2 separate regions of the Homo sapiens genome follow, and region 1 is linked to region 2. The links are contacts of gene promoters, found by promoter capture Hi-C in human tissues and cell types (Jung and others, 2019). All regions are on one chromosome and are shown on one strand. Each heading gives the region's core, a stretch centred on a gene start or on the middle of the fragment in contact. The rest is flanking DNA. Distances are from core to core; before and after follow the strand shown. Region 1 has its middle 18 kb from the start of CHST3. Region 2 holds the start of PPP3CB (protein phosphatase 3 catalytic subunit beta).

Region 1 (3,238 bases), core at 177-2,676, 1.5 Mb after region 2:
ATCAAATTAAGGAGAAAAGGACTGTGCTGCTGTTTTGGGGCAGAGTGGTGGTGGGATGAAAAATTCCCGTGTTAACCCACCCCTTGTTGAGCACATACTGGATGCCGGGTCCACAGGGGAAACAAGCCTTAGTCCTACTCTGTCTAGAGAAGACACACATACGTCTTAACAAATACTAATGAGAAAATGTGCACATGAGGTGAGGCTGGGGAGGGGTTTCCAGAGCAGAACCACAGGCTAGCACAACTCCAGGGGGTGCCAGGCACCCCTGGAATTGTACAATGCTGCAGCCTTATTTCTGGAGCTGAACCCTGGCCTGGGCTTGAGAGATGAACAGGAGTTCTAGAGGCAGAGAACAGGTAGAGGTGGGACAAGGGCTTTTCTAGAATCTTCTGATCTGTAGTCAGATGTGTTATCCATTGCACCACTGGCCCCTCCAAGGGCTTTCCAGATGAAGGAACCAGTAACAAAAAGAAAAAACAGGTGTGAAAGGACATTCGTTCTCCAAGCTGTGGACTGGCATGACAGCTAATGCTTGGGCCTCCAGTGATGGTATCTTGAGTGCAAATGAGAGCTAGAGGGTCTGATCCAGGACATAGGGAATTTTTGTCCTAAAATAGTTTCCAGGCTCAATTTCTTCCCACAGTTTCTCAACCAAGAGAATTAGTCTCATTTTCTACCCTGTTTGAAAAATGGAAAGAACTTTCCTGGCCAGAGGCAGAATTGCATAGTGGTTAAGAATATGGGAGCTTGAGTGGCCCCTGGGGATGATGGCTCATACCTGTAATCTGAGCACTTTGGGAGGCTGAGGCAGGAGAATCTCTTGAGCACAGGAGTTTGGGACCTGGACAACATCTCAAGACCCCATCTCTACAAAAAAATTTACAAAATAGCCAGGTGTGGTGGTGCATGCCTGTGGTCCCGGCTACTCGGGAGGCTGAGGTGGAGGACCACTTGAGCTCAGGAGTCCTAGGTTGAAGTGAGCCAAGATCACACCATTGCACTCCAACCTGGGTGACAGAGTGAGACCCTGTCTCAAAAAAAAAAAAAAATAAAAAGAAAGAGCTTGAGCACTATTTTAAACAAGCAATCCAAGTTACTATCACTAATAAGGGGACAAACCTCCTGATGCGATGCACTAAGAATACAACATTGAATGTGAGGTATTCCTGAAAAAAATGCATTGCTTGAATGGAATTATGAGGAAACATCAAACAGACTCAAACTGTTTACAAAACAAAGGATGTTTACAAAACAACTAGCCTGCAATATTTAAAATGCCAAGGACATGAAAGACAATAAAAAGGCTAAGAAACTGTTCCAGATCAGAAGAGACTAGAGACATAAACATGTGATAGGCAGATGTCAGTGATGAGATATCACTTCTGAGATTAGGTTACAAAGGACTGAGACTTCCATCTTGCTAGAATTCTCTTTCTGGCTCTTCTCAGCTTGCTTGTTCTGGTGAAGCAAGCTGCCAAATTGTGAGCTGCCCTCTGGAGAGGCCCATGTTTCAAGGAACTGAGGAATTCCTAGCCAACAGCCAGCCAGGAACTGAAGCCCTAAATCCAACAGTCTGCAGTGACCTGAATCCTGCCAACAATCACTGAATGAGCTTGGAAGCAGATCGTATTGCACTTGAATTCTGAGATGACTGTGGCCGACACCTTGGTTGCAGTCTTGTGAGAGACCCTGAGCTCAAGAGCCCAGCTAAGCCATGTCTAGATTCCTGACCCATGGAAACGGAGATGACAAATATTGTTTTGAGCTACCAAGTTTGTTGTGCAGCTAAATTTAACTAATACAACAACTAAATGCATCCTGAACTAGATCCTGAAACTGAAAAAAAGGATTACTGTGAAAGACACTATTTAGATAATTGGTAAAATATGAATAGGGACAAAATAGATAATATTGTCTCAATGTTAACTTTCCTGAGTGATAGCTGTACTGTGGTTTTATAAACAGAAGTTTTGTTCATTAAAGATTTTGTAGCAGGACCGGTCTTAGACAAGACCTCTCGGACACCAGTTTTAGGAAGGAATAGGCTTTAATCAGCTGGGAGCATTGGTAGACTCGTGTCTCAAGATCTGAGCTCCCCGAAGTCAAGATTCCTGTCCCTTTTAAGAGCTTACAACTAACTAAGGTGTCCAAGTGAAAGGGTCATGATACATTGTGCAAGCGGGGGCTACGTGACTGGGGCTGCATGCACCGGTGATCAGAACAGAACTGAACCGAACAGGGAGTTACACAATGCTCCCTCATGCAATGTCTGGAATCTATAGGTAACATAAGCGATTAGGTCAGGGGTCAATCTTTAACTACTAGGCCTGGGGTGTGGTGATGGGCTGTCTGACTATTGAATTTCACTTCTGCCTTTTCTTTAACTCCTACTTTCTCTTTCCTTTGAGGCAGAAATTAGGCAGAAGACAATATGAGACGTGGTCTCCTCCCTTAGTCCCCCCTTTGAGAACCTCACTTATTAGTGGGAGTTCTCATCTTCATCTTCACTATCTAGGTTTTCTTGTAAGACAGATCAATAGCAATTCATGTAGTACACTTGTGCTGAAGTATTTTGATGGACTAAGTTGTAACAAAACTTTTTATTACTTGAAGGAGCAAGGGCAGCACACAGGGAAGCAACAGGCAGGTTCCTATTATAATTTCTATTATAAGAGTTTTAAATCCTCTTAGCACTGGAAACCATTTTCTAAACATGGTCCCAGGATCAAACCCATGCCACACTTGCACGGGCACAAGTGCCAGCTTTGTTATATCTTTAACTATATTTTTAACTACTTGCCCTTTATGTGCAGGCAGCAATTGGTTAGGTTAAATTTCCCACAAACTCCTCTTTCAGCTGCTAGCAAGTAACCTAGGGCTAGTCTATTCTGATAAATGGCATTTCTCATCAGGGTTTCTTGCCTGGCTAAAACGGTCAAAGCTCTGCCAGTTTCATTAGTGATTATTTCTTTTTTTTTTTTTTGAGATGGAGTCTCACTCTGTCACCCAGGCTGGAGTGCAGTGGCACGATCTTGGCTCACTGCAAGCTCCGCCTCCCAGGTTCACACCATTCTCCTGCCTCAGCCTCCCAAGTAGCTGGGACTACAGGTGTCTGCCACCACACCTGGCTAATTGCTTTTTTGTATTTTTAGTAGAGATGGGGTTTCACTGTGTTAGCCAGGATAGTCTCGATCTCCTGACCTCATGATCCACCTGCCTCGGCCTCCCAAAGTGC
Region 2 (2,977 bases), core at 51-2,550:
AGAGCATTCAGTACTCAGTACATTATACACTTCCTTCCTCCCCTCCTTAGGAAGATTTTCTGGGGATTCAAGCTCTTCTTACAGACTCACTCCTGATCAATGTACTCCAGGTGCCTTCCCTCTATCTTATAAGTTTGTGACGTGCCTCCTGTCCCTTCCTTCCTCTCCTTCCGTGGGGGCCTCTCCCTTTCCCTTCCCCTGTGGTGTTATGGCCCTTCCATGCCAGAAAGATCCATTTTCACCTGTGCCTCACTCCCGAGACTCTTCCCTCTAAAAAATAGCTTGTGGGTTCCCTTTTTGGAAAAAATCCATTGTTGGGTCTTTCCCTTCCTCTTTTCCTGGGGTCTCAGGATAGAAATTGACACAAAGAAGAGGTAGAAAGGTACTCCTTGGACCTTCGGACTACTACTTACTTACCACCATGCATTATGAACAGATTCTGAGCACATGTATTATTGAGCAGGAGGATGGGCAGGAATTGGTTGTTCCATCCCACTTGGATCCTGCACCATCAAGATATATAGAGCTTAGTGGATATGCTGGTCCCTGTCCATGATTCAACATATCTCCTGGTGTCGTGGACACACTCATCTAATAATTTTTGATGAACAGTCAGTTCTTGCCCCTCTACCCCCTTTCCCATGAGTGTCAGTCACCGTGGTCTCTATAAAGGTTCCATAAGTCACCTGGGCCCAGATTCTGTGCATGTGCAGAAATAAGGAATTAATTTCCAATTCCCTATTTACTCCTCTGCCTTCCAGGAGGAGGTTGTATCCTTTTCAGGTGAATTCTTCAGATTCTTTGCACATCTCTTGGTGTCATCCCCTTTATTCCCCTTACCTGTTTTGACAAACTATGGCGCCTAAATTGCTCTAGCTGCAGTCTTATTCTGTGCTTTCAGACTCTTGACAATTCCAGACTCTAAACACAAAGGCCAGAATTCTCTTTCAAACTCCATTTTGGATGGTCCCTTCTCCACTCTAGAACCTACAATGCTTCCTCTATTCTCTGGTCCCCTACCAACCCTTCAGTATTCAGATCTGGTAGCTAAATCGTTATACATTTCTCTATTAGTAGGAGATCCTGAGGTTTAATCACGTCTTCTCAGTTTACTGGGAATGCCATGAGAGCGGGTGTGTTTCCTCGCAGTCGTTCGATCGCAGCACCTCCTCATTCTTCATTCTGCATGCAAAGAATTTTAACCTGATCCCTTGGCCTCGTCCTGTTTCTCTCCTAGCTTCAGTAATTTTGCCCAAGTCCCTAGAGCCTACCCCGCCCCCACCCCCGCACGCGCAGTGCATGCCGGTCTTAGCCCCTCTGTAGGGAAAGAGGGTCCGCCATGTTCCCCGGCGGCGCCGCCGCTTGGCTCTGGTAGCCGCCGCCCCCGCCCCCAACCCCGCCCGGCCCAGAGCCTAGCCGAGCCCCGGGCCCAGCATGGCCGCCCCGGAGCCGGCCCGGGCTGCACCGCCCCCACCCCCGCCCCCGCCGCCCCCTCCCGGGGCTGACCGCGTCGTCAAAGGTGAGAGGTGGACGAAACCCTGGGGGCCTGGCCTGAAGAGCTAGCTGTGTGTGAGGGCGGGCGGGAGACCGTCCCCTCGGGAGTGGGCCCGGAAGGGCGGGCGAGTGACTGGCTGCCTCCCTTGGGGAGTGGCCCCTGGGCGGGCCCCTGCTGGGCAGGGCTGAGTCGGTGGCAGTGGTTCCGCGGTCTCCCGGTTGCTTTCAGGCCGGGGCGGAGGTTTTGCTTCCGTGGCTTCCTAGCCCAAGGGGTGAGGCTGTTAGCTGCAGTGAGCCCGTTTTCTCTTCACTCGGCCTGTCAAAGCGGCGCAGGGGCCGCGATTAGCTTCCTGCCCCGCGACAGCTGCACTTCTGGCTTGCCGGGGCGAACCGAGGGGCTCGGAGACCTTCAGCCACGCGAGGCCCGCCAGTGAGCAGTCAGAAATCACCTCGGCTTTGGCCCACGCCTGCTCCCCGGTGACAGTCGTCCGCCCTATCCGCGTCTAGCTGGCGACAACCGCAGGGGTTCACTTTTGGCCGTCAGGTGCCACCCGGAGCAGAAATTAGGGGAACCTTGTGGGATTGGATCACGGTGAAGGGTCGGGGCAGGAATTGGAAGGCCAGCCTTTATAGTGCAGAAAGGGAGAAAAAGCAGCATAAACGAAAAAAAAAATTCTTGTGGATAGCAAGTATTTACTTAGAAAACCATCAACACTTTGGTCAAAAGGAGTTACCCCTCCCTTACAAACACACACCCACACATTCATCCTAGACGAAAAAGTTAAATGTTTCTCAGCCAGGGCAGAATTTATGGATGTTTACCCACAACAGGTCAGCAGATTAATTTAAAATAGAGAAATTGAGGGCTAATTGAGAGTTGCTTAAGATTCCAAGCTTCCTGGGAGAGCCTACCAACCTCAAACACTGCTGTGGAGGTGAAAAACAATTGAAATGATTCTCTTTACCATGTAGCTTGATTGATAAATTGAAATCGTAGAATGAACTTTTCCTTATTTGTATTGTATTTATTTTTAAAATATAGGTACTTTTGTTTTCATTCAGCTTCTCAAATACACTGGCACAGTATTTAAACACCGTTAGCCTACTTTTTGAAATCTGACTCATATGTTTCCATTAAAATATTTAAAAACAAGGAAACCTTTTTTCTTTTTTTTTTTTAATTAAAAATTTTCAACCTGAGCCTTCTTCGGTTCTTAAAAGAATAATACTAATTTGGCCTGGCGTGGTGGCTCACATCTGTAATCCCAGCACTTTCGGATGCTGAGGCAGGCGGATCGCTTGAACTCAGGAGTTGGAGACCAGCCTGGGCAACATGGCGAAACCTTTTCTCTACCAAAAATACAAAAAATAAAAATTAGCCGGGCATGGTGGCGCGCCCCTGTAGTCCCAGCGGATCGGGAGGCTGAGGCACGAGAATCACTGGAGCCCGAGAGGCAGAAGTTGCAGTGAGCCGAGATTTGCG

Evidence for each region. The method cuts DNA at HindIII sites, captures the fragments that hold promoters and counts their contacts. A contact is called where the count stands out against the background at its distance.
Region 1: a fragment that was not itself captured here is called in contact with the fragment with the promoter of PPP3CB in region 2 in 1 of the 25 tissues and cell types used here (dorsolateral prefrontal cortex).

The regions. Positions count from the first base shown.
Region 1 is chr10:71,945,261-71,948,498 of GRCh38, reverse strand. No RefSeq gene overlaps it. Among named protein-coding and RNA genes, the nearest start is that of CHST3, 18 kb to the left of the region's middle. The HindIII fragment of the contact is 4,623 bases long and covers 1-3,238 here.
Region 2 is chr10:73,494,347-73,497,323 of GRCh38, reverse strand. It overlaps PPP3CB (protein phosphatase 3 catalytic subunit beta), which reads left to right and starts at 1,300. Exons shown (of 14, transcript NM_021132.4): 1 at 1,300-1,519. The coding sequence starts at 1,435. It overlaps PPP3CB-AS1 (PPP3CB antisense RNA 1), which reads right to left and starts at 1,572. Exons shown (of 5, transcript NR_132104.1): 1 at 1,507-1,572; 2 at 841-1,182. RefSeq lists enhancers at 1,094-1,283, 1,774-2,233 and a silencer at 1,364-1,713. The HindIII fragment of the contact is 7,291 bases long and covers 1-2,977 here.